Linked DNA regions of Homo sapiens: region 2 is linked to region 1. Evidence: promoter capture Hi-C in human tissues and cell types (Jung and others, 2019). All regions are on one chromosome and are shown on one strand. Each heading gives the region's core, a stretch centred on a gene start or on the middle of the fragment in contact. The rest is flanking DNA. Distances are from core to core; before and after follow the strand shown. Region 1 holds the start of FBXL20 (F-box and leucine rich repeat protein 20). Region 2 overlaps FBXL20 (F-box and leucine rich repeat protein 20).

Region 1 (2,714 bases), core at 46-2,545:
CCTGAACCTAGTTGTCGAGTTTCTTAAACTTTTGTCTCGCCGTCTTACAATTTCATCTCTCAAATGGAGATGAAGAAAAACACCGAGTGAGATTGTCCACTGAGCTGTGAGTGATCCCAGGTCAGCCTGGTTCTCTGCCAGAAAAGACCAGGTGACATTTACTCTTCCTGTAGAAGTTTCTTTCTCTTGACCCTCAAGGAACCTTCCAGTATATTGTTATACTACTGTAATTCATCAGTAGTTACAATATTTCACTTCCCAAAGGAATCTCTTCCTTGCAAGATGACTACTCTCTAAAGACGCTTTCAAGACCGTCCACTCCTCAATTCCAGGACAGTAAACCTCCCTCGCTAGAGGAGAAAAAGTTCCTGAAAGACAGACCGGAATGGATTTGCTGAACTTTCGTCCCAATCTCAAAGCATGTAGACATCCAAGGGTTCCCAAGGAACAATGAGCTACAGAAGTACAGACTAAACGGGAAAGCAGAGGAAGTATCAGAACAATACCCAAACCAAACACAGCACCGAAAACCCGTGGTAGCCTCTATCATCCCAAACTACCGTCCCCACTTCCCTAGTTTCACCAAGGTCTCAAACTCGGAGAAATGGTACCCATCCCCTAATTTCCTCCCTCAACAGACAACAAACGCGTCATGAAGGTAGCAGCGAGAAAAGCAGCAGGCTCTGGTGGACCGGAGCCGTGATGGCTGGGTGGAAGGAGGCAAGCCAAGGGTTGTGTAAAGAATGGAAAGCTGAGCGATCCTGGAGGAGGGTGGAATTAGGGCGCCCGAGCTAATCCCCCGCGGGGGCCCGCTGGTGGGAAGAGACGGGGGGCGAACCGGCGAGGGGACTGGGGGCACCGGGCTGCGCTGGGCTTCTGGGTCGCAAGAAAGGGGAGCGGAGTCTGGCAGCCCCGCCAGTGGGTGGGTGACGGCGCCTGCCAGGGAGGAGGCTCCGTGCGGAGCGGACGTTTTGGGATTAGAGCGCGCGACCCGCCCTCCTCACGCCGCCCGAGCCCCCCAAGCTCACACCTCAAACCTGCTCTTGGTCACTCCGTTCACGTCCCTCCTCATGGGGCCGGCGGGTGCGGCCCGGGCCGGGCGCTGCGGCGAGCGGAGTGCACAGACCGGGGGCCCAGGACAGGCCCGGGAGTTCCGGGACGGGGACTGGGCGCCGGAGGGGTGACGCCGGGACCGTGGGACGGGAACAAGAGACCTCTCGGCTCCGGCTAGGCCTCCACCACCTCCCGCGGCGCCGGCGGCCGCAACGACTGCTCGTCGCTAGCTCGGCTCTCTCCTCAGCCTCAACTTCAACCCAAAACAAAAACACTCCCCACCTGCCAGCAACGCCGCTGCTCATTGGACAGAGCCGCCCGGGCCTCGGAGCGCCCGGGAGGGGGAGGGGCGGGAGGGGAGGAGCGCGGCGGCGGCGGCGCGAGACCACCCCTCCCCCACACGGGGCCGGCCCTGACGGCGCTCCCGGGAGCAGCCGGTGCGCGGCGGCGGCACGACCCCCTGCGCCTCCGAGGCAGACGAGCCCATCGGGAGAAGGCGAGGCAGGGAAGTGCCTGTGCGTGTGGAAAAGGGGGTCTGTGGGGCGGATGCGAGTGCGCGCGTGCTCGCGGACCAGCGAGGGAGAGTAGAGCAGTACCGCACTCTGCGCGGGGGCCCCTCTTCTGCCCCGTGTCCCCCTCTCCTCCCTCCGCGGGCAAACAGGCACGCACCTGCCTGCACAGAACCTCAGCCTCTGCCCGCGCCCGTCGCCCCTCGTCACTTGTTCCCCAGGATCCTGTAAGGCACCCGCATCCTTCCCGGCCACCCAGCTCCCTTCCCCTGTCACTCACTGTCGCCTTGAACCCAAAGTGCAGCAGGCGGTCCCTGCTCGGAGCCATTTTCCTCCTCTTCTGGATGTGTCTAGATTGGGGCAGTGCGGCTGCCGCCGCGCCTCCGCGGTTGCCGCCGCCGCCGCCTCCCCCGCCTCCCCCGCCCCAGTGCATTACATTACGGGGTGCTGCAGGGAGGCCTGGGGGGCCGGGGCCGGACGCTTGTCTCCCTGTGCATGGCTCGGGAGGGCGAGGGTGGTTGCGCTGAGCAACAGGCCAAGTGCCCGCCCTGGTCCGGGGATGGCTGCGGAGCTGCACCTGAGGCCGGGGGTCGGGGGTGCAGGGCTGGAGCCGGGCAACCCTTCCTTTGGCCGGGGTCGGGGCGCGCGTCCGTGGGGGTGGGGCGGGCGAGACCGAAGAGCCTTTGGTTTTCCTTGCTCGGCCGCCGCCGGCGCCCAATGGGCTGCAGCGCCTGCCTGTCCGCCAATCAGGGCGCTGTTTGGTGAGAGCTTCGGCCTGACGTCACTTTGGCGGGAGAAACAAGCGTGTGTGAGCGAGTAGGCGGGGGCGTTTTCCCGATGGAAACACTTCATCAGACTCCCGGGCTCCTTGTATAGAAGCTGATCTGTGTCATCATATTATATTATGTTTTAACAACTCTGGCCTTCAAGGTCTCAGAATTTATGACCGAATTTCCACGAAGGAATAACACAGGATTTTGTAGTTTTGTTGCCCCTTCTATGAGCAACAAACTACAAAATTATGTCCTAAGAGTGAACTATTAGAAACTGTATAATAAATTCCAGCACACCTGGCAGGAGCAGCAGCACTGCTAATTGTATGCTTCCAAAGCAGTTATGAGTTGGTCTTCCTCACACCCCTTTTAATTAGTG
Region 2 (2,924 bases), core at 197-2,696, 44 kb before region 1:
TTGCAGTGAGCTGAGATTGTGCCACGGCACTCCAGCCTAGGCGACAGAGCGAGACTCCATCTCAAAAAAAAAAAAAAAAAAAAAAGTTTTATAGTTTTAGCTTATACACTTAAGTCTAAGATCCATTTTGAGTTAATTATCATATGTGGTATGAGGTGAGAGCACAACTTCATCTGTCTGCATGCAGATATACAATTGTTTCACCACCATCTGTTTTGTTTTGAGACAGGGTTTCACTCTGTCACTGAGGCTGGAGTACAGTGGCACAATCATGGCTCACTGCAGCCTCAACTTCTTGGGCTCAAGTGATCATCCCATCTCAGCCCCCCAAGTGGCTGGGACTACAGGTACATATCACCACGCTCAGCTATTTTTTCTATATTTTATAGAGACGGGATTTCGCCATGTTGCCTAGGATAGTCTTGAACTCCTGGACTCAAGCAATCTGTCTGCCTTGGCCTCCCAGGCGGCTAGGATTATAGGCATGAGCCCCTGCGCTCGGCCTACATTTGTGTTTGTTTTGAGACAGGGTATCACTCTGTCACCCAGGGTGGAGTGCAGTGGTGCAATCACCTCTCACTGCAGCCTTGACCTCCCAGGCTCAAGCAATTCTACCACCTCTGCCTCCTGAGAAGCTGGAACTACGGGTGCGTGCCACCACACCTGGCTAATTTTTTTTTTTTTAATTTTGCAGTAGAGACAAGGTCTCACTATGTTGCCCAGGCTAGTCTTAAACTCCTAAACTCAAGAGCTCCTCCCACTTTGACCTCCCAAAGTGCTGGGATTACAGGCATGAGCTATCGTACCCAGCCCCATTTGAAATAGTCTTTAAAGCAAATGGGGCTGGGTCCAATGGCTCATGCCTGTAATCCCAGCACTTTGGGAGGCCAAGGCGGGTGGATCACCGAGGTTGGGAGTTCGAGACCAGCCTGACCAACATGGAGAAACCTCGTCTCTACTAAAAATACAAAATTAGCCGGGCGTGGTGCTGCATGTCTGTAATCCCAGCTACTTGGGAGGCTGAGGCAGGAGAATCACTTGAACCCGGGAGGAGGAGGTTGAAGTGAGCCAAGTTCGTGCCACACTGCACTCCAGCCTAGGCAACAAGAGCAAAACTCTGTCTCAAAAAAAAAAAAAAAAAAGACTTTTTTTGCCCAGTTGAATTGCTTTAGTACCTTAATCAAATATCACTTGACCATAAATGTTGGCATTATTTCTAGACTCTCAATACTGTTCCATTAATCTATACATATATCTTTATGTCAACAATTCACTGTCACTGTTAGGCATGCCTCTCATTCTGTATGTTTTCTCTGTCTCATATCTTTTGTTCTTCTGTTCCTTTTATATTGCCTTCTGGTATCTTAAACAGTTTTATAATTATCATCTTACGCGAAACCCCCTTTATTTCTTGAGACAGTGTCTTACTATGTCACCCAGGCTAGAGTGCGGTGGCACAAACATAGCTCACTGCAACCTCCAACTTCTGGGGCTCAAGCGAAGCTGCCTCAGCCTCCCAACGTGTTGCGACTACAGGTGAGTCACCATGCCCAGCTGGCAAATGCCTTTAATTCAGTCAAGATAATAAAAGAAACATTTACTTATTGTCGTTCATATTTACCTCTGAAATTAACTTCTGCTCTTCTTTTTCTTCAAGTTACCATCTGGTACCATAGCGTTTCATTTCAGCTTGAAGTACTTCCTTTAGTAAGGCAAGCCTGCTAACAAATTCTCTCAGTATTTGCTTATCTGGAAACGTTTTTATTTTGCCTCAACTTTTGAACAAAGTATTAGTTCAGGTTTTCCAGAGAAACAGAAACAATTACATATATATAAACTCTTCTCATACATATGCATATGAAGAGATTTATTATAAGAACTGTCTCACAGAAAGCTTATAATGTAATCCAGTCAGAGTCCAAAGGCCTAACTAAGAACCAGAAGTGGAGGTGAGGCAGTATTACCAGCGTCCAAAGGCCAGAACAGGAGCTCTGATGTCCAAGGAAAAGAGAAAATGAATGTCTCAGCTCAAGGAGAGGCAGTATTCTCCCTTCCTCCACCTTTTTGTTTTATTCAGGCCCTCAGCTGATTGGATGATGCTGGCCCACACTGGTGAGGGCGGATCTTTCTTTACTCAGTCTACTGATTTAAATACTAACCTCTTCCACAAACACCCTCACAGACACACCCAGAAATAATGTTTTACTAGCTATTCGGGCATCCCTTAGCCTTCTCAAGATGGCATATAAGGCCAGGAGCAGTGGCTCATGCCTGTAATCCTAGCGCTTTGGGAGGCTGAGGTGGGTGGATCACTTGAAGTTAGGAGTTTGAGACCAGCCTGGCCAACATGGCGAAACCCTGTCTCTTCTAAAAATACAAAGATTATCCGGGCGTGGTGGCGTACGCCTGTAATCCCACCTACTCAGAGGCTAAGGCAGGAGAATCACTAGAACCCTGGAAGTGGGGGTTGCAGTGAGCTGAGATCAAACCACTGCACTCCAGCCTGGGCAACAGAGTGAGACTCTGTCTCAAAAAAAAACAAAAAAACAAAAAAACAAACAAAAAAAACACCTCTCAGTAGAAACAATAACAACACTATCAACAGAATGAAAAGACAACCTACACATTAGGAGAAAATATTTGCAAATATCTATCTCAGGAGTTAACACCCAGAGTATATAAAGAAATCCTACAAACTGAAAAACAAACAAAAAACAATCCAACTAAAAAATGGGCAAAAGGCTTGAATATTCAGACGTTTCACCAAAGAAAATATACAAGGGACCGATAAGCACATGAAAAGATGCTAAACATCACTAATCATTAGAAAAATGCAAATCAAAACCACAAGATACCACTTCACAATCATTAGGAAGGCTATTTTCTAAAACAAAAAATCTGGCAAGGCGCAGTGGCTCACGCCT

Evidence for each region. Contacts are between HindIII fragments. The study calls those that stand out against the background at their distance.
Region 2: a contact is called between a fragment that was not itself captured here and the fragment with the promoter of FBXL20 in region 1, in 1 of the 25 tissues and cell types used here (adrenal gland).

Annotation. Positions count from the first base shown.
Region 1 is chr17:39,400,331-39,403,044 of GRCh38, forward strand. FBXL20 (F-box and leucine rich repeat protein 20) reads right to left here and starts at 1,296. Exons shown (of 15, transcript NM_032875.3): 1 at 1,031-1,296. The coding sequence starts at 1,072. RefSeq lists silencers at 549-841, 906-1,335, 1,366-1,565, 1,596-1,675, 1,926-2,315 and 1 more. The HindIII fragment of the contact is 13,208 bases long and covers 1-2,714 here.
Region 2 is chr17:39,356,152-39,359,075 of GRCh38, forward strand. The region is part of intron 1 of FBXL20 (F-box and leucine rich repeat protein 20); the gene reads right to left. Among named protein-coding and RNA genes, the nearest start is that of FBXL20, 44 kb to the right of the region's middle. The HindIII fragment of the contact is 4,338 bases long and covers 1-2,924 here.